Regions from separate parts of the Homo sapiens genome. Here regions 2, 3, 4, 5 and 6 are each linked to region 1. Evidence: promoter capture Hi-C in 16 types of primary human blood cells and fetal thymus (Javierre and others, 2016). All regions are on one chromosome and are shown on one strand. The core of a region is centred on a gene start or on the middle of the fragment in contact, and the rest is flanking DNA. Distances in the headings are between cores, read along the strand shown. Region 1 holds the start of FAXDC2 (fatty acid hydroxylase domain containing 2). Region 2 has its middle 11 kb from the start of MIR3141. Region 3 has its middle 41 kb from the start of MIR1303. Region 4 has its middle 20 kb from the start of MIR1303. Region 5 has its middle 8.6 kb from the start of MIR1303. Region 6 has its middle 28 kb from the start of MIR1303.

The links. Contacts are between HindIII fragments. The CHiCAGO score rates a contact against its expected background, and 5 or more counts as called.
Region 2: a fragment that was not itself captured here is called in contact with the fragment with the promoter of FAXDC2 in region 1 in 1 of 17 cell types (activated CD4 T cells); the score reaches 6.7 in activated CD4 T cells.
Region 3: a contact is called between a fragment that was not itself captured here and the fragment with the promoter of FAXDC2 in region 1, in 14 of 17 cell types (activated CD4 T cells, erythroblasts, monocytes and 11 more). The highest score is 17.5, in activated CD4 T cells.
Region 4: a fragment that was not itself captured here is called in contact with the fragment with the promoter of FAXDC2 in region 1 in 12 of 17 cell types (activated CD4 T cells, monocytes, total B cells and 9 more); the score reaches 14.1 in activated CD4 T cells.
Region 5: a fragment that was not itself captured here is called in contact with the fragment with the promoter of FAXDC2 in region 1 in 6 of 17 cell types (non-activated CD4 T cells, activated CD4 T cells, total CD4 T cells and 3 more); the score reaches 7.9 in non-activated CD4 T cells.
Region 6: a contact is called between a fragment that was not itself captured here and the fragment with the promoter of FAXDC2 in region 1, in 7 of 17 cell types (activated CD4 T cells, non-activated CD4 T cells, neutrophils and 4 more). The highest score is 9.1, in activated CD4 T cells.

The regions. Positions count from the first base shown.
Region 1 is chr5:154,848,697-154,852,089 of GRCh38, reverse strand. FAXDC2 (fatty acid hydroxylase domain containing 2) reads left to right here and starts at 1,487. Exons shown (of 9, transcript NM_032385.5): 1 at 1,487-1,607. The HindIII fragment of the contact is 21,500 bases long and covers 1-3,393 here.
Region 2 is chr5:154,605,829-154,609,221 of GRCh38, reverse strand. No RefSeq gene overlaps it. Among named protein-coding and RNA genes, the nearest start is that of MIR3141, 11 kb to the right of the region's middle. The HindIII fragment of the contact is 1,837 bases long and covers 935-2,771 here.
Region 3 is chr5:154,642,830-154,646,222 of GRCh38, reverse strand. No RefSeq gene overlaps it. Among named protein-coding and RNA genes, the nearest start is that of MIR1303, 41 kb to the left of the region's middle. The HindIII fragment of the contact is 2,287 bases long and covers 404-2,690 here.
Region 4 is chr5:154,663,786-154,667,178 of GRCh38, reverse strand. No RefSeq gene overlaps it. Among named protein-coding and RNA genes, the nearest start is that of MIR1303, 20 kb to the left of the region's middle. The HindIII fragment of the contact is 322 bases long and covers 1,376-1,697 here.
Region 5 is chr5:154,692,697-154,696,089 of GRCh38, reverse strand. It overlaps a transcript of LARP1 not described here. Among named protein-coding and RNA genes, the nearest start is that of MIR1303, 8.6 kb to the right of the region's middle. The HindIII fragment of the contact is 4,028 bases long and covers 1-3,393 here.
Region 6 is chr5:154,712,489-154,715,881 of GRCh38, reverse strand. It overlaps a transcript of LARP1 not described here. Among named protein-coding and RNA genes, the nearest start is that of MIR1303, 28 kb to the right of the region's middle. RefSeq lists a cis regulatory region at 211 and enhancers at 127-296, 2,948-3,393. The HindIII fragment of the contact is 396 bases long and covers 1,722-2,117 here.

The DNA.
Region 1 (3,393 bases), core at 238-2,737:
GAGGCTGAGGCAGAAGAATCGCTTGAACCCAGGAGGCGGAGGTTGCAGTTAGCTGTGATCATGCCATTGCACTCCAGCCTGGGTGACAGAGCAAGACTCCATCTCAAAAAATAAAAAAAAGAAATCCTCCTGCCTCAGCCTTCCAAAGATTGCTGAGATTACAGGCATGAGCCACTGCACCCGGCATTTTTTATTTTGTTTTGTTTTTTAGAGACAGGGTCCCACTCTGTCACTCAGGTTGGAGTGCAGGGCACAATCATAGCTCACTGCAGCCTCCAACTCCTGGGCTCAAGCCATCCTCCCACCTCAGCCTCCCCAGTAGCTGGGATAACAGACATGTGCCAGTAAGCTCTACTAATTTTTTGTATATGTAGTAGAAATGGGGTTTTGCTACATTGCCCAGGCTGGTCTTGAACTCCTGGCCTCAAGTGATCCTCCCGTCTTGGTCTTCCAAAGTGCTGAGATTATACATGTGAGCCGCCGTGCCCAGCCAAGTTTCTGAGTTTTGTTTATTTTAGAAAGGAGTCTTCCTGTGCTGCCCAGGCTGGTCTCAAATACCTGGGCTCAAGTGATCCTCCAACCTCAGCCTCCCAAATAGTTGGGACTACAGGTGAGCACCACCATGCCTAGCCAATCTCCATGTTTGATTGTTAAGTGGAAAAAGCAAGGTGCACAACAAACATACTATGGTGCTGTTGCTAAAGGAGAAGCACAAGGCCTACACATGTTTCTATTTACAGAGGTAAGCTCTGGAAGGATATACAAAAATCTGGTCACAGAGGTTGTCTCTTGGGAGGAAAAAAAGGGGACTGAGGAGAAATTAAAAAAAGACTTTTCATTGTACATTCTTTTGACCCTATTGTATTTTATATCATTTGCACATTTGCTTATTTAAAAAGTTTTCAGAAATTTAAAAGCAGCTCTTTTTCCAAAGTGCTCCTCACTTCATGTCATGGGTCCTGTATCCTAAGTTCCCCTATTTCAATCACAGTGCAAATTTACCCTCCACAGGCATGCCTTTCCTGCATCTAGACTCACTAGAAATAGCTGATGCATCTCTCCTCCCTTGCCTGCCCTCCACAGGAAAAGAAGCAATGAAAAAAAAGAAAATGAGATCCTCTGGTCTCTGTCACCTTTTTATCAACTTGTACTACCTGCCATTATCTGACACCCACATCTTTTCTTGAATCTGCCTCCTCCTATGGGACAGCGACATTTTCTTAAGTTGCAGATGATGGAGAAAATTTTTTAAAAGAAAAAAAGGGGGCAGGGGGAGGGAAGCCCAGAGTTTGGCCAAATGCACGTTTTTCAAGTTCCTGCTTGAGCTTAGATTCCCTTTCCGCTTTAAGGACATGCCCTCTGGAAAGAAGGGTGTTTTGTTTCCAGCCCACACAGACCCAAACTTTTTTCATCACGTGCCTGGTCCGAGCCAGTACGCAGCTCTGTAATGAGATCACCATGGCCAGCCTCCCACCCGAGCAAAAACAAGGTTAGCCTGCAGCAGAGCCGCAGCAGCAACAGCCACCAAAGCGGGGGCTGAAAGGGAAGAGAACTTAGATTTGACCTGTGCAAGGACCTCAGCAGCTTGGACACAGCCCACTGCAGAGGTAAGTGGGAACTACGGGGGAGGGGTGGTGTTTGCAAAGGTCAGGACATGTCCAGGTTCACTTAAAGTAAGGGCAAAACAACACTCTTCCCACCTCTGCCACCACCCTGTCCTCTCTACTTATGGCAGGGTTAGATTTGCCTCTAAACAGGGTTAGATGGCAGGGTTAGAATTTGTCCTAGGACATTGCTGTAGTGCAGTCGCCTCCTTGTCTCTTACTAATGTCTGTATCCTCTGCCTGTGTTTGTACCATCTACCTCCTCAGTAGTCTAATTTTTCTAGCAATTGACAGGTGATTGTAATGGACAAGTAATTGTTTGACTTTAAAACCATTTGTAAAGGAGCAACTCCTAATTCAGAACTCAAATGAGAGGCAGAACAAACTGGAAGAGACTGTTGGGAAGCAACTGCTGCCTAATTGCTTCTCATCTCTACTCTGCCATCACCAGGAAGGTATGGGGCAAAATACAACAGTTTTAAAGTCTCTGGATAGATGTGTGGGCTATGAGCTAGACAAGTAGGTTGAAACTGTTTTGATGCAACATACTTGGATTTACCAACAGTGGCTCCAGTTGTGAAATCGTTAGTGGCTTGATAGTACCTATGGAAACACTCCACGAAGGTTATTGAGTAAAGGGCATACAGTAAAGTGTGTAGGTGGAGATGAACAATAGAACAGTGGCTTTCAGGACCTTCTGGGGCTTAAGGCAAGCAAGACAAGATGCTGATTTGTGGGTTGCTTCAGTTTCATGTGCAATTCCAATTAAATTTCTTTGAGTGGGATATACAGATTCAATTCAATTTGCTAAAACACAGATGCACTGAGCATCAGCTTCTAACTTTAGTTACGAAAGTAATTAGCACAAGGGAATGGTGCTAAAATGTTCCATAGCAAATGTTGAACACTTTTTGAGGGCAAAAAGCAATGCTTTTGATTCGTGTATCTCTTATTTATTCGGCAAATCTTTCTTGAGTATCTTCTACATGCCAGGCTTGGGCTTGATTCTGTGGATCTCGTGGTAAACAAGACAGGCAGATTCTCGGCCTCATGGACATGCAATCAAGCAGAACAGTAAGCTCAAAGGGTGCAAGTACCATGCAGCAAAAGGAGTGAAGAGAGTATTACTAAAACTGGCCCATGGGAATCATTTTTAACCTTTCCTTTCATGCATTTCATCTTCTGTTTTTGTTTTTTTTGTTTTTTGAGATGGAATCTCGTTCTGTCACCCAGGCTGGAGTACAGTGGCGCGATTTCAGCTCACTGCAACCTCCACCTCCTGGGTTCAAGAGATTCTCCTGCCTCAGCCCCCCAAGTAGCTGGGATTACAGGTGCCCGCCACCACACCCAGCTAATTTTCGTATTTTTAGTAGAGATGGGGTTTCACCATGTTGGCCAGGCTGGTCTCCAACTCCTGACCTCAGGTGATCTACCCACCTCGGCCTCCCAAAGTTATGAGATTACAGGCATAAGCCAACGTGCCCAGCCGCATTTCATCTTTGTTTTTTTTTGTTTTTTTGAGACAGACTCTTGCTCTGGCGCCCAGGCTGGAGTGCAGTGGCATGATCTTGGCTCACTGCAACCTCCGCCTCCCAGGTTCAAGCGATTCTCCTGTCTCAGCCTCCAGAGCAGCTGGGATTACAGGCGTGCACCACCACACCCGGCTAATTTTTATATTTTTAGTAGAGACGGAGTTTCGCCATGTTGGCCAGGCTGGTCTCAAACTCCTGACCTCAGGTGATCTGCCCACCTCGGCCTCCCAAAGTGCTGGGATTACAGATGCGAGCCA
Region 2 (3,393 bases), core at 604-3,103, 240 kb after region 1:
AGCTCACTTCTTCATGGGAGAGGCAGATGAATAGCAGAAAATAGATATGAATGTCAGCCTCTGATTATAAAATTAAACAGGGAAAAATGAGAGTGGCACAGTGGGGTGGGTAGGGGAAGACCTTAGAAATGTGGCCAGGGAAGGCATCTCTGGGATGTGACGTTTGAGAAGAGACCTGCAGGAGGTGCCTTTTGAAGATCTGGGAAGGAGTTTCCAGGCACAGGAAGAGCCAGTGCCAAAGTCTCAGGGCAAGAGCAAATGAGGAGGGAAGGGGTCTGAAAGGGAAGGAAGGCAGGCAGGCGAAGCTGGAGCACCCCACAGCCAGGGCTGAGATCAAAGAGGAGGGCAGGGCCCGATGGGTGGGGCAAGGTCTGGGTTTCATTTTAGACGCAGAGGCAGCCCCCTGAAGGGTTCTAAGTAGGAGAGTGAGGTATTCTCATTTAGTTTTAATCTCTCTGGCTGCCAGTGAGTCCCTCCCTAAAGTTCCCCTTCCTCCCTCCCCAGCAATCTAATCCACAGATGAGAACCCGGGAGCATAACTGGTAGCCGGGGCTGCTGACCCTGGCCCAGGGTCTGCAGGGTTAATCCCGGGGGCCTGGAGCAGCCCCTGATTAGCAGGCCCTGCCACTCCCTGCTGATAAACTCCCAGGCAGGAAGAGGCAGGACTCATCCGGTAGGAAAGTGGAGAAACCAAAGCTGGTGAGGAGGGGAGCTCCAGGAGCACCTTAGGAGGGCTCTCTTCCCCTTTTGGAGGTGGTGAGTTCCCTAGGTGAAAGCCCTCTGGTTTTATCCCTCATTTGGCATTTTCATAGCCACTCTTACAGTCAGGGCCTGGTGTGGATTTTATGGGCCCCTGTTTAAGGAAGAGAAAACAAAATTAGGTGCAGGGCTTTAGAAGAGCCATGTGTACATGAGGTCCCCTGAGACCTAAGCTTCACTAGCTCCATGGTAAGTGTCCATCTCTAATTTTCCATCAGGGGAATAAGCCCTGTATACAGATGAGGAAGTTGAGGCTCTGAGAGCCTGAAAGGGATATAGAAAACAGAAGGGTTTCTGCTGGGATTTCTTATCCCCCAGCCCAGAACTCATTCTACCACCCAATCCATCTAAAAATCCAGTTGTGCCTTCTCCTTGCAGACCTGCTCCCACCACCAGGCTCAGGCCACAAGGAAGGGTAGCATAGGGCATGGTGGAGATGGGCGGGCTGGTGGCAACCTGCAGAGGGAAAGGGCTTAGCATGAAGCAGCATCCCTGTTGGGGACAGGATCCTGGGTGGCCAGGATTCCATCTGCCTACCAGACATTCCAAACCACACATTGTTTTTTTTTTTTTTTTTTTTTTTGAGACAGAGTTTTGCTCTTGTTGCCCAGGCTGGAGTGCAATGGTGCAGTTTTGGCTCACCGCAACCTCTGCCTCCTGGGTTAAAACAATCCTCCTTTTGCTGTGAACCGAGATCACGCCTCTGCACTCCAGCCTGGGTGACAGAGTGAGACTCCGTCTCAAAAAATTAAAAAAAGAAAATAAAGGAATCCTCTTGTCTCAGCCTCTCCAGTAGCTGGGATTACCAGCGCCTGCCACCACGCCCAGCTAATTTTTGAATTTTCAGTAGAGACGGGGTCTTACATGTTGGCCAGGCTGGTCTTGAACTCCTGACCTCAGGTGATCTGCCTGCCTCAGCCTCCCAAAGTGCTGGGATTACAGGCATGAGCCACTGCGCCTGGCCCCCAAACCACACATTCTAAACCACCTGGAGGTCAGAGCAGCGGCTCCGGGATCTGGCTGAAGATCAGAATCCCTGGGAATTTGTTAAAATGCCATCCCTGGGCTCTAATCCAAAGCTGCAGAATGAGAATTGCCAGGGGTGGGACCAGAAATTTGGGCATTGAACACACTTTCCAGGTTCTTCTTCAGCACAGGTGGGCTGGAACCCCTGATTTAACCATCAGCCTTGCCTCCTGGGGGTCTGCCTACCTGTGCCAGGGTGGGTCCCCAGGAGTTATCAGGGACAAAGGAATCCCCTTTTCCTGGCAGGGGTGAATGTGAGTGTCTAGGGCTGACTGCTCACATGATAGCATGGAGTCTCAGCTCTGGCCAGCATGACTCTGGGAAGACGAGGACAAGACCCAGGGCTTGGTGGGGACGGGCTTTGCCAGGGCATGAATCATGCTTCTAGTGCTTCTAGGGGAGCCATCTCCAGGACTCCCTCCCCTCACCTCTAGAATGGAGTTGAGGAGGCCTGACACGAGAATTATTAAAGCACTTAGGATCCTTCTGGTGACCTTTAGAGAAGCTGTGCTGTGTGCCAACACAGTCCTAGAGGGAAGAAAGACACATTCCTGATGACAGACAAGGAAGCTGAGGTCCTGAGAGGTAGGGTAACTTGTCCGAGATTACCCAACTAGGAACTGGCAAGACTGAAATTTGAACTCAGGGTGGTCTGATTTCAGGGCATGTCATTTTTAGGCCATCCTGTCTTGTTTGGCTCTCTTTTCATTTCCTGTCATTTCGCTAGGTGATATTCATTGAGCACCTCTTTTGTGCCAGTGGAGAGCTGGCACCTCCACTCCACCGTTCTGCAGTGAGGTTGGATAAGGCACGAGGTGGTGGCCCTCTGGAAACTGTAAAGTGCTCTCTGGCCTTGGAGGATTCTTCTCAACCGTGTGGCTCAGCTCTCTCTGTGCTTTCTTCACAGCCTAACTGGGCTGGGAGAGTGCTATCTCTGGCTGAGAGAACCACAGACTTCAAGATGTATGAGGGCTACCTGGGAAGCTTGTTAAAATGCAGATTGGAACCACCCCCAGAGATTCCAATTCAGTTGGTCAGAGCTGGGCCTTGGGCTATGCATTTTTGACAACTGTCTAGATTGTCTGCTGCGGGTGGTTTGAGCATTGCACTTTAAGATATGGTACACTATAATAGAAAGACAAAAGTCAGAAGAAAGACGTAGTGACCATCTGGCAGCCCAAGTCTTAGATAATGAAAGTTAAGGACTTTCTTCTTGCGAAAATGCATAAACTCACCTACATCCAAGATTTTGAAGTTTCAGGAAGTTTTGGGTCCCTGAAGGCCAGCCATGCAATTATGGATCCTTGGACCCCAACTTAATAACCCCTGATCTCCATGCTAGGCTCACAGGTCACCTGGGCAATGAAGGCCCCCCTAGGCCTCCCAATAAAGTTGCTTCTCCTCTGTGTTCCTGTAACACAGTAAGGACTTAACTCCATCAGAGTTGTGGTTTACCCTATTTACGCCTCTCCCCCTGGACTGTGGGGCATGTGGAAGTCATTTTCCTCCTCCTTCCCGGCGCAAGGTAGGATTATACTGTCCTGTCCCCTTTGAGGTTAGACATATCCATGTGATTACTTTAACCATGAAATGTTAGCAGTAGAAACT
Region 3 (3,393 bases), core at 298-2,797, 210 kb after region 1:
TCTTGCGTTCAAGGCATTGTGCTAACACTTTTCTTTTTTTTTTGGAACGAAGTTTCGCTCTTGTTGCCCAGTCTGGAGTGCAGTGGCACGATCTCTGCTCACTGCAACCTCTGCCTCCTAGGTTCAAGTGATTCTCCTGCCTCAGCCTCCTGAGTAGCTGGGATTACAGGTGCCGGCCACCATGCCCGGCTAATTTTTGTGTATTTAGTAGAGACGGGGTTTCACCATGTTGACCAGGCTGGTCTTGAACTTCTGACCTCAGTTGATCCACCTGCCTCGGCCTCCCAAAGTGCTGGGATTACAGGCGTGAGCCACCATGCCCGGTTTGTGCTAACACTTTTCTAGGCATTATCTCATTTAATTACCAGCAGAGGGTGAGTGCTTTAACTCTTTAGAGGAAGCTTAGAGAGGTTGACAGGCCTGCCCAGGCTTATTAGCTGGAGTGTGGATGGACCCACAGCTGACCCTCCTCAGCAGAGCACTCCAGTACCTGCAAAACTGTGGGCAGATGTCTGTGATTCTGAGATCGATTGGGAGTTGGGGTCCGGCTTTTCTTTTCTTTCTTTTTTTTTTGAGTTGTAGTTTCACTCTTGTTGCCCAGGCTGGAGTGCAGTGACAGTGATCTCAGCTCACTGCAGCCTCCACCTCCCCAGCTCAAGTGATTCTCCTGCCTCAACCTCCTGAGTATCTGGGACTACAGGTGACCACCACCATGCCTGGCTAATTTTTTGTATTTTTAGTAGAGACGGGGTTTCACCATGTTGTCCAGGCTGGTCTCGAACTCCCAACCTCAGGTGATCCGCCCGCCTTGGCCTCCCAAAGTTCTAGGATTACAGGCATGAGCCACTGCGGCCTGCCTGGGGTTTGGCTTTTCAAATCTCAGTAGGTAGGTTGGTTTTTGTTTTTTTTTTTCCCTTTGGTGTGCTGTGGGTTGAGGATGTGGGCACTCGACTCAGTCAGCCTGATTTGGGATCCTGGCAGTGCCACATTCTGGCTGTGGGCCAAGGGGCAGGTCACTCAGCCTCTTTCAGACTCAGTTTCCTCATGTGCAAAATGGGAGTAGTACTGGTACCTGCCTCATAGGGCCTGTGAGAGAAATGCGTGGAGTCACTTAGCACTGAGCCTGGCTCCTAGCAAAAGCTAAAAATACGCAATTGTTGCTCTTAATTATTCTTACAGCCTATAAAACAGCTTTGTGTGCATTATTTGATTTGATTCTCACAATAGCACTGAGAGGATGTACAGGGGCAGATTTATCTCTGTTTTTTTTTTTTTTTTTTTTTTTTTTTAACACAAAGCGACCAAAGTTCAGAGAGGATGAGAGGCCTGGTCTAAGTCACAGGGCCATGACCTCAAGTTCAGGGAGGCTGGTTCCTCTCACCACTGCATTCTCTAAAATACTGTCCAAGGGAAATATAAAGGCAATCACAAATGTAATTTTAAATATTCTAATAACCACATTAGGAATCATAAAAGCAAACAAGTGAAAGTAATTTTAATAAGATATTTCATCTACTATATAAAAATATTACATTTTAACATGTAATCAATATAAAATCATTACTTTTAGGGAAAAGAAAGAGAGATCAGACTGTTGCTGTATCTATGTAGAAAAGGAAAACATAAGAGATTCTATTTTGACCTGTACCTTAAACAATTGCTTTGCTGAGATGTTGTTAATTTGTAACATTGCCCCAGCCACTTTGCCCCAACCTTGAGCTCACAAAAACATGTGTTGTATGGAATCAAGGTTTAAGGGATCTAGGGCTGTGCAGGATGTGCCTTGTTAACAAAATGTTTACAGGCACTATGCTTGGTAAAAGTCATCGCCATTCTCTAGTCTCAATAAACCAGGGGCACAATGCACTGTGAAAAGCCACAGGGACCTCTGTCCTGAAAAGCTGGGTATGGTCCAACGTTTCTCCCCATGTGATAGTCTGAAATATGGCCTCGTGGGATGAGAAAGACCTGACCGTCCCCCAGCCCGACACCTGTAAAAAGTCTGTGCTGAGGTGGATTAGTAAAAGAGGAAAGCCTCTTGCACTTGAGATAGAGGAAGGCCACTGTCTCCTGCCTGCCCCTGGGAACCGAATGTCTCGGTATAAAACCTGATTGTACATTTGTTCAATTCTGAGATGGGAGAAAAACCACCCTATGGTGGGAGACGAGACATGTTGGCAGCAATGCTGCCTTGTTATTCTTTACTCCACTGAGATGTTTGGGCAGAGAGAAACATAAATCTGGCCTATGTGCACATCCAGGCATAGTACCTCTCCTTGAACTTAATTATGACATAGATTCTTTTGCTCACATGTTTTTTTGCTGACCTTCTCCTTATTATCACCCTGCTCTCCTACCACATTCCTTTGGCTAAAATAATGAAAATAATAATCAATAAAAACTGAGGGAACTCAAAGACCAGTGCTGGTGCAGGCCCTCCGTATGCTGAGTGTCGGTCTCCTGGGCCCACTGTTGTTTCTCTATACTTTGCCTCTGTGTCTTATTTCTTTTCTCAGTCTCTTGTCCCACCTGGTGAGATATACCCACAGGTGTGGAGGGGCGGGCCACCCCTTCATCTGGCGCCCAATCTGGGGCCTTTCTCTAGGGTGAAGGTATGCTAAGAACGTGAACATTGAGAACAGCTGATGAGAGATTCCCAAGTATGTCCACGGTCAACCTTGCGGTAAGCTTGTGTGCTCGGAGGAATCCAGGGTAACAATGGGGCAAGCTGAAAGTAAATATGCCTCTTATCTCAGCTTCATTAAAATTATCTTAAGAAGAGGGGGAGTTAAAGCTTCTACAGAAAATCTAATTATGCTATTTCAAACAATAGAACAATTCTGCCCATGGTTTCCAGAACAGGGAACTTTATATTTAAAAGATTGGGAAAAAATTGGCAAAGAATTAAAACAAGCAAGTAGGGAAGGTAAAATCATCCCACTTACAGTATGGAATGACTGGGCCATTATTAAAGCAACTTTAGAACCGTTTCAAATAGAAGAAGATAGTGTTTCAGTTTCTGATGCCCCTGAGAGCTGTGTAATAGATTGTGAAGAAGAGGCAGGAACAGAGTTCAAGAAAGGAATGGAAAGTTCACATTGTAAAAATGTAGCAGAGTCTGTAATGGCTCGGTCAATGCAAAATTGTTGACTATAATCAATTACAGGAGGTAATATATCCTGAATCATCAAAATTGGCAGAAGGAGGTCCAGAATTATTTGGGTCATCAGAGTTTAAACCACGACGGCCATCAACTCCTCCTCCTGCGGTTCAGATGCCTGTGACATTACAACCTCAAATGCAGGTTAGACAAGTACAAACTGCAAGAGAATATCAAGTAGAAAAGGATAGAGTCTCTATCCCGGCAATGCCAATCCAGACACAGTATCCACA
Region 4 (3,393 bases), core at 287-2,786, 180 kb after region 1:
CAGACAGGGTCTCGTCATGTTGCCCAAGCTGTTCTCAAACTCCTGGGCTCAAGTGATCCACCTGCCTCGGCCTCCCAAAGTGCTGGGATTACAGGCATGAGCCACTGTGCCCAGCCTCTCATACCATTTTTAAAATGTAAGCCATCACAATGTGTAATAATATTTGTAATGGTGTGTTTATCTCTTTCAGGTCTGCTTCTTCCACTAGACTGAAATTTCTTTTTTTTGAGACAGAGTTTCATTCTTGTTGCCCAGGCCGGAGTACAGTGGCACGATCTCTGCTCACTGCAACCTCTGCCTTCCAGGTTCAAGCGATTCTCTTGCCTCAGCCTCCTGAGTAGCTGGGATTGCAGGTGTGCGCCACCACAACTGGCTAATTTTTTGTATTTTTAGTAGAGACCGGGTTTCACCATGTTGGCCAGGCTGGTCTCGAACTCCTGAACTCAGGTGATCCACCTGCCTCAGCTTCCCAAAGTCCTGGGATTACAGGCATGAGCCACCGTGCCGGGCCTAGACTGAATTTTCTTTGAGAACAGAGCCTGTGTCTGTTTTGTACAAATCACAGGGCCGAGTACAGAGTAAGTGCTCAATAAGTATTTGTTCAATGAATGAAAGAGTGAGTGAGTGAATGAATGAACAAATGCCTTCTCTTCTTGAGGTCTCAAGCTCCTCTTAGGAAAAAGTCTACACTTGACTCCTTTCTTTTCCACAGCTTAGCTCTGAACTCCAAGTGAATATTTATGGAATCCTGATTAAGTGGCATGGAATATAGATAATTGAGAATACCTGTTTTTTCTCTCTTCTGGGCTCCAGTCTGCCCTGTGGCCTGGAAATAGGAGGTACTGAATAAAGATTTGTTGAGTGAATAGTGTACAGTCTGGCCCTCTGACAAGGAACAAGGAGGTATGGGGATAGCATTTCAGCCTAGCACATGAGGCCCTGAGAATCCAATGAATACTGAATCCCTGACCAGCCATCAGATTTTAAGGGCAGGCAGAAGCCAGCTCTGAGCTCGACCAGGCTGTGCATGTTTCAAATTCCTGGGAGCCAAGGCTCAGAGAGAAAGAGGAACTTGCTTGAGGTCACCCAGGATGTTGGCAGAGCCAGAATGAGGCTGCACAGCTCCCAGTTTAGTCCTTTCCCCTGTTTAGTGTTCTCCCCACCACCTCTTGCTGCCTTCCAGGTAAGAAGAGAAAGGAAAAGGAGGCCTGGATGCCTAGAGATTTTCCACTTCTAGCAAGAACACCGTCAAGCAAGAGTTCAACCCACCCATTTCACAGATGTGATAACTGAGGTGCTGTGAGGCTGCAGGCCTTGCCTCACAGAGAGTTTGCAGGGGCTAGAAGCCCAGCCCAGGTGACCCCAATGTGAAGCTTTTTCTATATGTATGTACTATTTCTCTACTATTTCTTGACCAGCCTAGAGTGAATCTCACCTCCCCAAATGATATGGTATGAACGTTTGTCCCTGCCAAATCTCATATTGAAATATAATTCCCAATGTTGGATGTGGGGCCTCATGAAAAGTGATTGGATCATGGAGGCAGATGCCTCATGAATGGATTAGCACCATCCTCTTAGTTCATGTAAGATCTGGTTGTTTCAAAGAGTCTGGGACCTCCCCCTTCTCTCTCATGCTCCCACTCTTGCCCTGTGATGTACCTGCTCCCCCTTTGCCTTCCACCATGATTGTAAGCTTCCTGAGGCCTCACCAGAAGGAGTTGCTGGCATTATGCTTCTTGTACAGCCTGCAGAATTGTGAGCCAATTAATACTCTTTTCTTTATAAATTACTCAGCCTCAGGTATTTATTTATAGCAATATGACAATGGCTTAACACAGAAAATTGATACCAGAGGCCAGGCGTGGGGGCTCACACCTGTAATCCCAGCTACTCGGGAGGCTGAGGCAGGAGAATCACTTGAACCCAGAAGGTGGAGGGTGCAGAGAGCCAAGATCATGCCATTGCACTCCAGCCTGGGCAACAAGAGTGAAACTCCATGTCAAAAAAAAAAAAACAAAAAAACAAAAAACAAAAAACAAAAAACAAACAAACAAAAAAAACCCCAGAAAATTGGTACCAGGAGTAGGGTGTTACTATAAAGATATCTGAAAATGTGGAAGTGACTTTGGAATTGGGTAACAGGCTGAAGTTGAAAGAATTTGGAGGGCTCAGAAGAAGACAAGAAGATGAGAAGACAAATGATTTTGACCAAAATGCTGATAGTAACATGGACAGTGAAGGCCAGGCTGACAAGGTCTAAGATAGAAATGAGGAAGTTAGGCAGGGCACAGTGGCTCATGCCTGTAATCCCAGCACTTTGGGAGGCTGAGGTGGGCAGATCACCTGAGGTCAGGAGTTTGAGACCAGGCTGGCCAACATGGTGAAACCCCCATCTCTACTAAAAATACAAAAATTAGCCGGGCATGGTAGTGCGTGCCTGTAATCCTAGCTACTAGGGAGGCTGAGGCATGAGAATCACTTGAACCTGGGAGGTGGAGGCTGCAGTGAGCCGAGATCGTGCCACTGCACTCCAGCCTGGGCGACAACAGCAAAACTAAAAAAAAAAAAAAAAAAAAAGCAAAGAAATGAGGAGGTTATTAGGAACTGGAGTAAAGGACACCCGTTTTATGACCTAACAAAGAACTTGGAGCATTGTGTCCATGTCTGAGGGCTCTTTGGAAGTTTGAACTTAAGGGTGACGACCTCTGGTATCTGGTGGAAGAAATTGCTAAGCAGCAAAGCATTCAAGATGTGGTCTGGCCACTTCTAATAATCTAAATGAGATATGGGAACAAAGAAATAACAAAGTTGGAATTTATTTTTAAAAGAAGAGTAGAGCATAAAAGTTCGAAAAATTTGCAGCCTGGCCCAGTGGTGGAGAAAGAATCCAAGTAGGCTGTGGAGTAACCACTTGCTACAGAGATCAACATGACTAAAAGGCAGCCAGGTGTTAATATCCAAGACAATGGGAAAGAGGCCTCAAAGCCATTTCAGAAGGTTTTTGGAAAGCCCCTTCCATCACAGGTCCATAGGCCTAGAAGGAGGAGGAAAGAATGGTTTTCTGGGCCAGGCTCAGGGCACCAATGCCCTGCACCACCTCCAGAGGCTGCTCCCCTCATGCCCACTGCTTCAGCTCCAGCCATGACTCAAAGGGCCCCAGGTACAGCTTGGGCTGCCACTTCAGAAGGCACAAGCCATAAGCCTTGGTGGCTTCTACATGCTGTTAAGCCTGCAGATGCACAGAATGCAAGAGTGAAGGAGGCTTGGCAGCTTCCTCCTAGATTTCAGAGGATGTATAGAAAAGCCAGGGTACCCAGGCAGAAGCCTGCTGCAGGGGTGGAGCCCCCACAGAGAAACTCTACTTGGGCAATGCTGAGTGGAAATGTGGGGT
Region 5 (3,393 bases), core at 337-2,836, 160 kb after region 1:
CCACCGTGCCCAGCCTCAATGAGTATTTGTTGAATATTTATTATGTACTGGACACTCTGAGATAAATATAGTTGATCTAAACCTAGCTGCTATCCCCAGGAGCCCATAATCTGTCATCTGAATGGCAAGACCTACTAGCGTACATCACCTCCATATATTGTGATTCCGTGTATGGAGGTGATGTATGCCAGCAATATATTGTAATTTTTTTTTTTTCGAGATAGAGTCTTGCTCTGTCGCCCAGGCTGGAGTGCAGCGGCACGATCTTGGCTCACTGTGACCTTTGCCTCCCGGGTTCAAGGGATTCTCCTGCCTCAGCCGCCCAAGTAGCTGGGATTACAGGTATGCGTCACCACGCCTGGCTACTTTTTGTATTTTTAATAGAGACAGGGTTTCACCATGTTGGCCAGGGTAGTCTATAACTCTTTTTTTTGAGACGGAGCCTTGCTCTGTCTTCCAGGCCGGAATGCAGTGGCACGATCTTGGCTCGCTACAACCTCCGCCTCCCAGGTTCAAGTGATTCTCCTGCCTCAGCCTCCTGAGTAGCTGGGTTTACAGGCGCGCGCCACCATGCCCAGCTGATTTTTGTATTTTTAGTAGAGACGGGGTTTCACCATGTTGGTCAGGCTGGTCTCGAGCTCCTGACCTCGTGATCTGCCCGCCTCGGCCTCCCAAAGTACTGGGATTTACATGCATAAGCCATATTGTGATATTAATGAGGGCCCCAAATTTGCTATTAGAGCACTGAAGAAGTGCTTTTTCTTTTTTTTCTTTTTTTGAGACGGAGTCTCACTCTGTCCCCCAGGCTGGAGTGCAGTGAGGCGATCTCTGCTTACTGCAAGCTCCGCCTCCCAGGTTCACGCCATTCTGCCTCAGCCTCCCGAGTAGCTGGGACTACAGGCACCCACCAACACGCCTGGCTAATTTTTTGTATTTTTAGTAGAGACGGGGTTTCACCATGTTAGCCAGATTGGTCTCGATCTGCTGACCTCGTAATCCGCCCATCTCGGCCTCCAAAAGTGCCGGGATTACAGGCGTGAGCCACCGTGCCCAGCCTAGAAGTGTTTTTTAAAAAACTTTTTATTTTGGGCCAGGTGCAGTGGCTCACGCCTGTAATCCCAACACTTTGGGAGGCTGAGGCAGGAAGATTGCTTGAGTCCAGGAGTTGAAACCCTGTCTCAACAACAATAACAAAAAAAAGGGAAAGAAAATTTTTCTTTTGAAAATATCAGAAAAATAAAAAAAAACAATAAACCAAATACCTATACATCAATCACATAGCAACAATTGTCAACATTTTACTGTTTTCTCCATCTCACTATATATAAAATCTGTGGCTAAAGCATTTTAAAGCTAATTACAGATATTCTAACACTTCAACCCTAAACACTTCAGCATGTATTTCCAAAAATTAGATCATTCTCTTCCATAACAATACACTTAACACGTCTCACAAAATTAGCAATAATTTTCTTATATCATCTAATACCAAGTTCATAGTGAAATTTCCCCATTGTCTAAAGCATGGTGGGCCAGGTATAGTCGCTTACACCTGTAATCTCAGTGCTTTGGGAAGTCAAGGTGGGAAGGTGGCTTGAAGCTAGGAGTTCCAGGCCAGCCTGGGCAATGTAGTGAGATGTCATCTCTACTAAAATAAAAAAAAAAAAATGGCCAGGTATGATGTCTTGCACCTATAGTCCCAGCTGTGGGGAGGCTGAAGAGGGAGGATGGCTTGAGTCTAGGAATTTGAGCTTGCAGTGAGCTAGGATCACACCACTGCACTTCGGCCTGGGCAACAGAGTGAGACCCTGTCTCAAAATAAATAAATAAATATGATAAAAATAAAAACGTGGTCCTTATTTTTTTATAGTAATAAATCAAGATATAATCAAGAATCACATCTTATATTTGGCTTGTTAGACTATTAGGTCTCTTTAAATCTAGAACCTCCTCCCCATTACTTTTTTTTGTTTTTACAACATTGGCTTTTAAGAGATTATGGCAGTTGTCTTATAAACTGTTTCACATTCTGGCTTTGTCTGATTGCTTCTTTGTGTGTTGTTTAACGTGTTCCTCTATCCCCTGAACTTTTCGTAACTGAAGCTAGTTCTTATAGGCCTCATTAGATTCAGGCTCAATATTTTTCACAGGAGCCAAAATAGGTGGAGCTATGTAGTCTACTCCATCCTATTAGGGGTGAGAAAAGAACTTTCTTTCTTTTTTTTTTTTTTTTTTAGACGGAGTCTTGCTCTGTCGCCCAGGCTGGAGTGCAGTGGCGCGATCTCGGCTCACTGCAAGCTCCGCCTCTCCAGTTCACGCCGTTCTCCTGCCTCAGCCTCCCGCGTAGCTGGGACTACAGGAGCCCGCCACCACGCCCGGCTAATTTTTTGTATTTTTTAGTAGAGACGGGGTTTCATTGTGTTAGCCAGGATGGTCTTGATCTCCTGACCTCGTGATCCGCCCGCCTCGGCCTCCCAAAGTGCTGGGATTACAGGTGTGAGCCACCGCGCCCAGTCGAGAAAAGAACTTTCATCTGGGCAATTCAAGTCCTTTTAAATTAATAAATGAGACAGTAATCAGTCCTACATCCCACTTTAAGCTATGTATTCATCTCTTAAAACTGCTTGCCAGGCCAATCACGAACCAATGTTATTTCTGTAAACCAATGAGAATTCCTGACACACAACTCTGTAATAGCCCTCTCCCTATTCTTTTTTTGTCTTTAGAAACCTGCTTGTGAGCCTGGGCAACATGGCAAAATCCGTCTCTACAACGAAATAAAAAATTAGCAGGGCGTGGTGGCTCATGCCTGTGGTCCCAGCTACTTAGGAGGCTGAGGTGGGAGGATTGCTTGAGCCCAACAGTTTGAGGCTGCAGTGAGCCGAGATCATGCCACTGCACTCCAGCCTGGGCAACAGAGTGAGACCCCGTCTCAAAACAAAATGAAACAAAGAAACCTGCTTGTGACCAGTCACAGTGGCTCACACCTGTAATCCCAGCACTTTGGGAGGCTGAGGCAGGAGGATCCCTTGAGCCCAGGAGTTCGAGAACAGCCGGGGCAACATAATGAGACTTTGTCTCTACAAAAAAAAAAAAAATAATTAAAAATTAAAATTAGCTGGGTATGGTGGTGCGTGTCTGTAGTCCCTAGCTACTAGGGAGGCTGAGGTGGGAGGAAATATACATATACACACACATATATATGTTTAAACACCTGCTTGTATGTAACAAAGGCCAAATGGAGCTCATATCTGAGGTTACTTGATTCTGAGTCTTCTCAGCAGCTGTCCTCACTTTGACTCAAGTAAACTCTTCAAATTATATTTCGTGCCCCAGCCTCTTCCTTTGAGGTTGGCAGGAGGCACTTAAGGCCAGCTGTCCACCATGTGTGAT
Region 6 (3,393 bases), core at 670-3,169, 140 kb after region 1:
ATAAGGTAATGACTTCAAAACATCTAGTAAAATTGTTAGCTCATCGTAGGTACGCAATAACTATAGCTACTCCACTAAAGTTCCTAATTGGAGGAATTCCCAATCCCTTCTGCTCCCTAGTCCATTCACTTCAAATCTATTTTTTCCCCAAGGTTTGGTCATTCGGTGTCCCTGGAACTCTAACTCAGATACCCAAGGCACTCAAAAAATATTCGCACACACCCCGCATTCACTCTTGGGAGGATTTTGAGATGCCAAGGCTGGTTACCAAGGAAAACGTTTAGGAGTCTTCCCTGGTGTTCAGCAGCAACGTTTCAGTGTTGGTTAAAAGACAGGCTTGGTCGGGCACGGTGGCTCATGCCTGTAATCCCAGCACTTTGAGAAGCCGAGGCGGGCAGATCACCTGAGGTCGGGAGTTCAAGAGCAGCCTGACCTACTAAAAATACAAAATGAGCTGAGCGTGGTGGCACATGCCTGTAATCCCAGCTACTCAGGAGGCTGAGGCAGGAGAATCGCTTGAACCCGGGAGGCGGAGGTTGCGGTGAGCCGAGATCAAGCCATTGCACTCCAGCCTGGGCAATAAGTGAAACTGACTCAAAAAAAAAAAAAAAAAAAAAGAGAGGCTTGCCCCAGAGCAGGGGACTGGCTAACATGACCCTTCAGGGGCCTTAAAATCTTCAACTTTAATTTCTTCTTTTTTTTGAGACAGAGTCTCGCTCTGTCGCCCAGGCTGGAGTGCAGTGTCGTGATCTCGGCTCACTGCAACCTCTGCCTCCCGGGTTCAAGCGATTCTCCTGCCTCAGCCTCCTGAGTAGCTGGGATTACAGGTGCCCACCACTCCGCCCAGCTAATTTTTTTGTATTTTTAGTAGAGACGGAGTTTCACCATGTTGGCCAAGCTGGTCTCAAACTCCTGACCTCATGATTTGCCTGCCTCAGCCTCCCAAAGTGCTAGGATTATAGGCGTGAGCCACCGCACCCGGCTTCATTTTTAATTTCATTAGCTCCTGTGCACATGCACACATGCGTATACGCACACAACGCTCACACACATTGTTACTCAAATACCTGCCTGAGTTCCCTATTCCTAGAAACTGTTTTGGCTTTCACTTTCACTCCACTCCTTCTACCATAGGCTCTACCCCGAGAGAGGGTGCTGCCACAACCCTTGAAACCAACATTCTCTGAGATTTATTTACTCAGCAGGGAGCTGCAGGAAAGGAGAGAACAGGGTGGCTGAAGCTCAAGTGACTGCACAGAAGGGGCTTTGAAAAGAAAAGTGACTTACACCCAGGGTCATCAGTAGGTCTTACAGTATATATTTGAGCCCAAGATCCTCTACTCCAACATGCCTGTTCTAACCATTGTATTATCCTGCTGCTTCCAATGGGGCCACATTCCAGGACTGGGTTCCCATCCCACGAGTCGTTAGAAAATACCATGACTCAGTGAGCTATTTCCCCTTTCTTTTTGTTTATATGATTGTACATTTCAAAAAGTCCCAGTAAATGGTATTTTTTTAAAGTAAAAGGATTTAAACAAGCAGCCACGATTCCATCATAATCAGTAATTCTTTTATCACATTAATTATTATCACACAGTGATTGGAGAAAATAATTACTACAGAGGCCGCATTTTACAAAACATTCATTACCTTACCTCATCAATCCCAAAATGTATTTTTAAATCTGAATTTATCTTAAAATCTGTGGAATCTAAGCTTCCATGGAACAGACTTTGTTTGGTCATAAGAACAATCCTGGTAGGCAAGCATTGCCCAGATTACAATCCCCATTTTGCAGCTGGGAAAACTGAGTTCAAAGAGGTAAACAATTTGCCTGAGGTCACAGAGCTAGTCAGTGCAGAACCAGAACTGCAGGCCTAGCTCCTGATTTTCAGCACAAGCGGTATCTACCATATATTCCTGGCCTCCAGGCCCTGTGTTCATACCTACCTGTTCCCATCACTCTCCTGGCCACACCCTAACAGAGGGCTGAGGGAGACCTCAGCTCCCCCAACCAGGCTTCCCTAGCCTCAGCCAGCTAGAGGTGGGGTAAACTCACTGTGGGGACTCCTGGGAGCAGTCTCTCCACATAGGAAATTTTTAAGTCCAAAGCTTTCACTTTCAAGAATGAACCCTGTGTGTGAGGCAGCACTGCAGAGACCAAAGCTCAGCTTGGGCGTGAAGGCAGGATTTTGCTGGTGTCCTTATAAACCCCATGCAAACTAGATCTAGGAGTTCCCCACCTGGGGACCCCATTCCCTGGAAATTACTCACAAATGCTCTATTTCTCATATTTCAAAAGGTCAAATGAAAATCAAATATCGACTCTAGATAAGATCTCACAGACAGAATAAAATACTACACTGCTTTTGGCTAAACCTGCATCAATTTAGTGGTTTGTGTCTGCTAACCAAAAAACACTGATTGGCTATTACAGGGCCACAATTCACATAGAAGAGGAAAACCAATTAACAAATTATTATGTAACAGGTGCAGCTGACAGACTTAAATCTTTCAGAACAAGGGGTGTGACAAGGGAAAACAATAGAAGAGGAAAGCTGAGAGTGGAATTTGAGCTCCTCATTTTCCCAGATGGGGAATGTGAGGTTCAGAGAGCTGGAGTGACTCGCTCAGGGTCACACAGCAGGGCTGGAACCAGCACCCAAGGTTTCTGCCCCTAGGGAGAAGGATCTTCCTACCACACCCTGCTGTCCTGAGGTTCAAGAAACGCAGAGTGCTAGGACTCACCAGGGTTGCTGAAGGGGGCCAGGACAGGGAATGGCAATGGCTTCTCCCTGTCACCTGTGGGCTCCTTCCTCGGGGCAGCTGCCAAGGCCACGCTGTTTTTCCTCCCTGGGAGTCTGCCAGGGCAGCTAGGTATGGGAGCCTCTTGGAAATCCAGCTCTGGGTGAGGGAAAGGAGGCCTCTTTGACAAAAGCACCCTCCAAAGCATGGAGTGACCAGGGCCTGGGGTCACTATGTGGCCCTGGAGGGTTTAGGTACATCCAGATCGCACAGCTGCCTCCTGGCTCTGGCCCGGGAGCTCTCCAGGTTGCCAGGCTAGTTTTCCTTCCAGACGCTGGGTGCCTTTAAGAGAGCGACGGCAGCTCATTGGCCGAGCAAGGCTACCCCACCTCTTTACCTTAGCGGGGAGCACAGCTAGGCTAGAGGCAGAGAGACTCAGGTGAGTAAACAAATGGTGGCAACCCGCTGAGTCTCCCCTCCTCCACAGCCCTGGTCCTGGGCTTCCTTCCTCACCTCCACTCTCCACCCTGGAAAACAAGCTGGGGCTAAAGGAAGAGCAAAACACTCTGCAAAGTGCTTAGTGCGGTTCAGACTACATGATCTCACAGTGACCCTGGGGCAGAGTTATTAGTACATCTTCTCTTT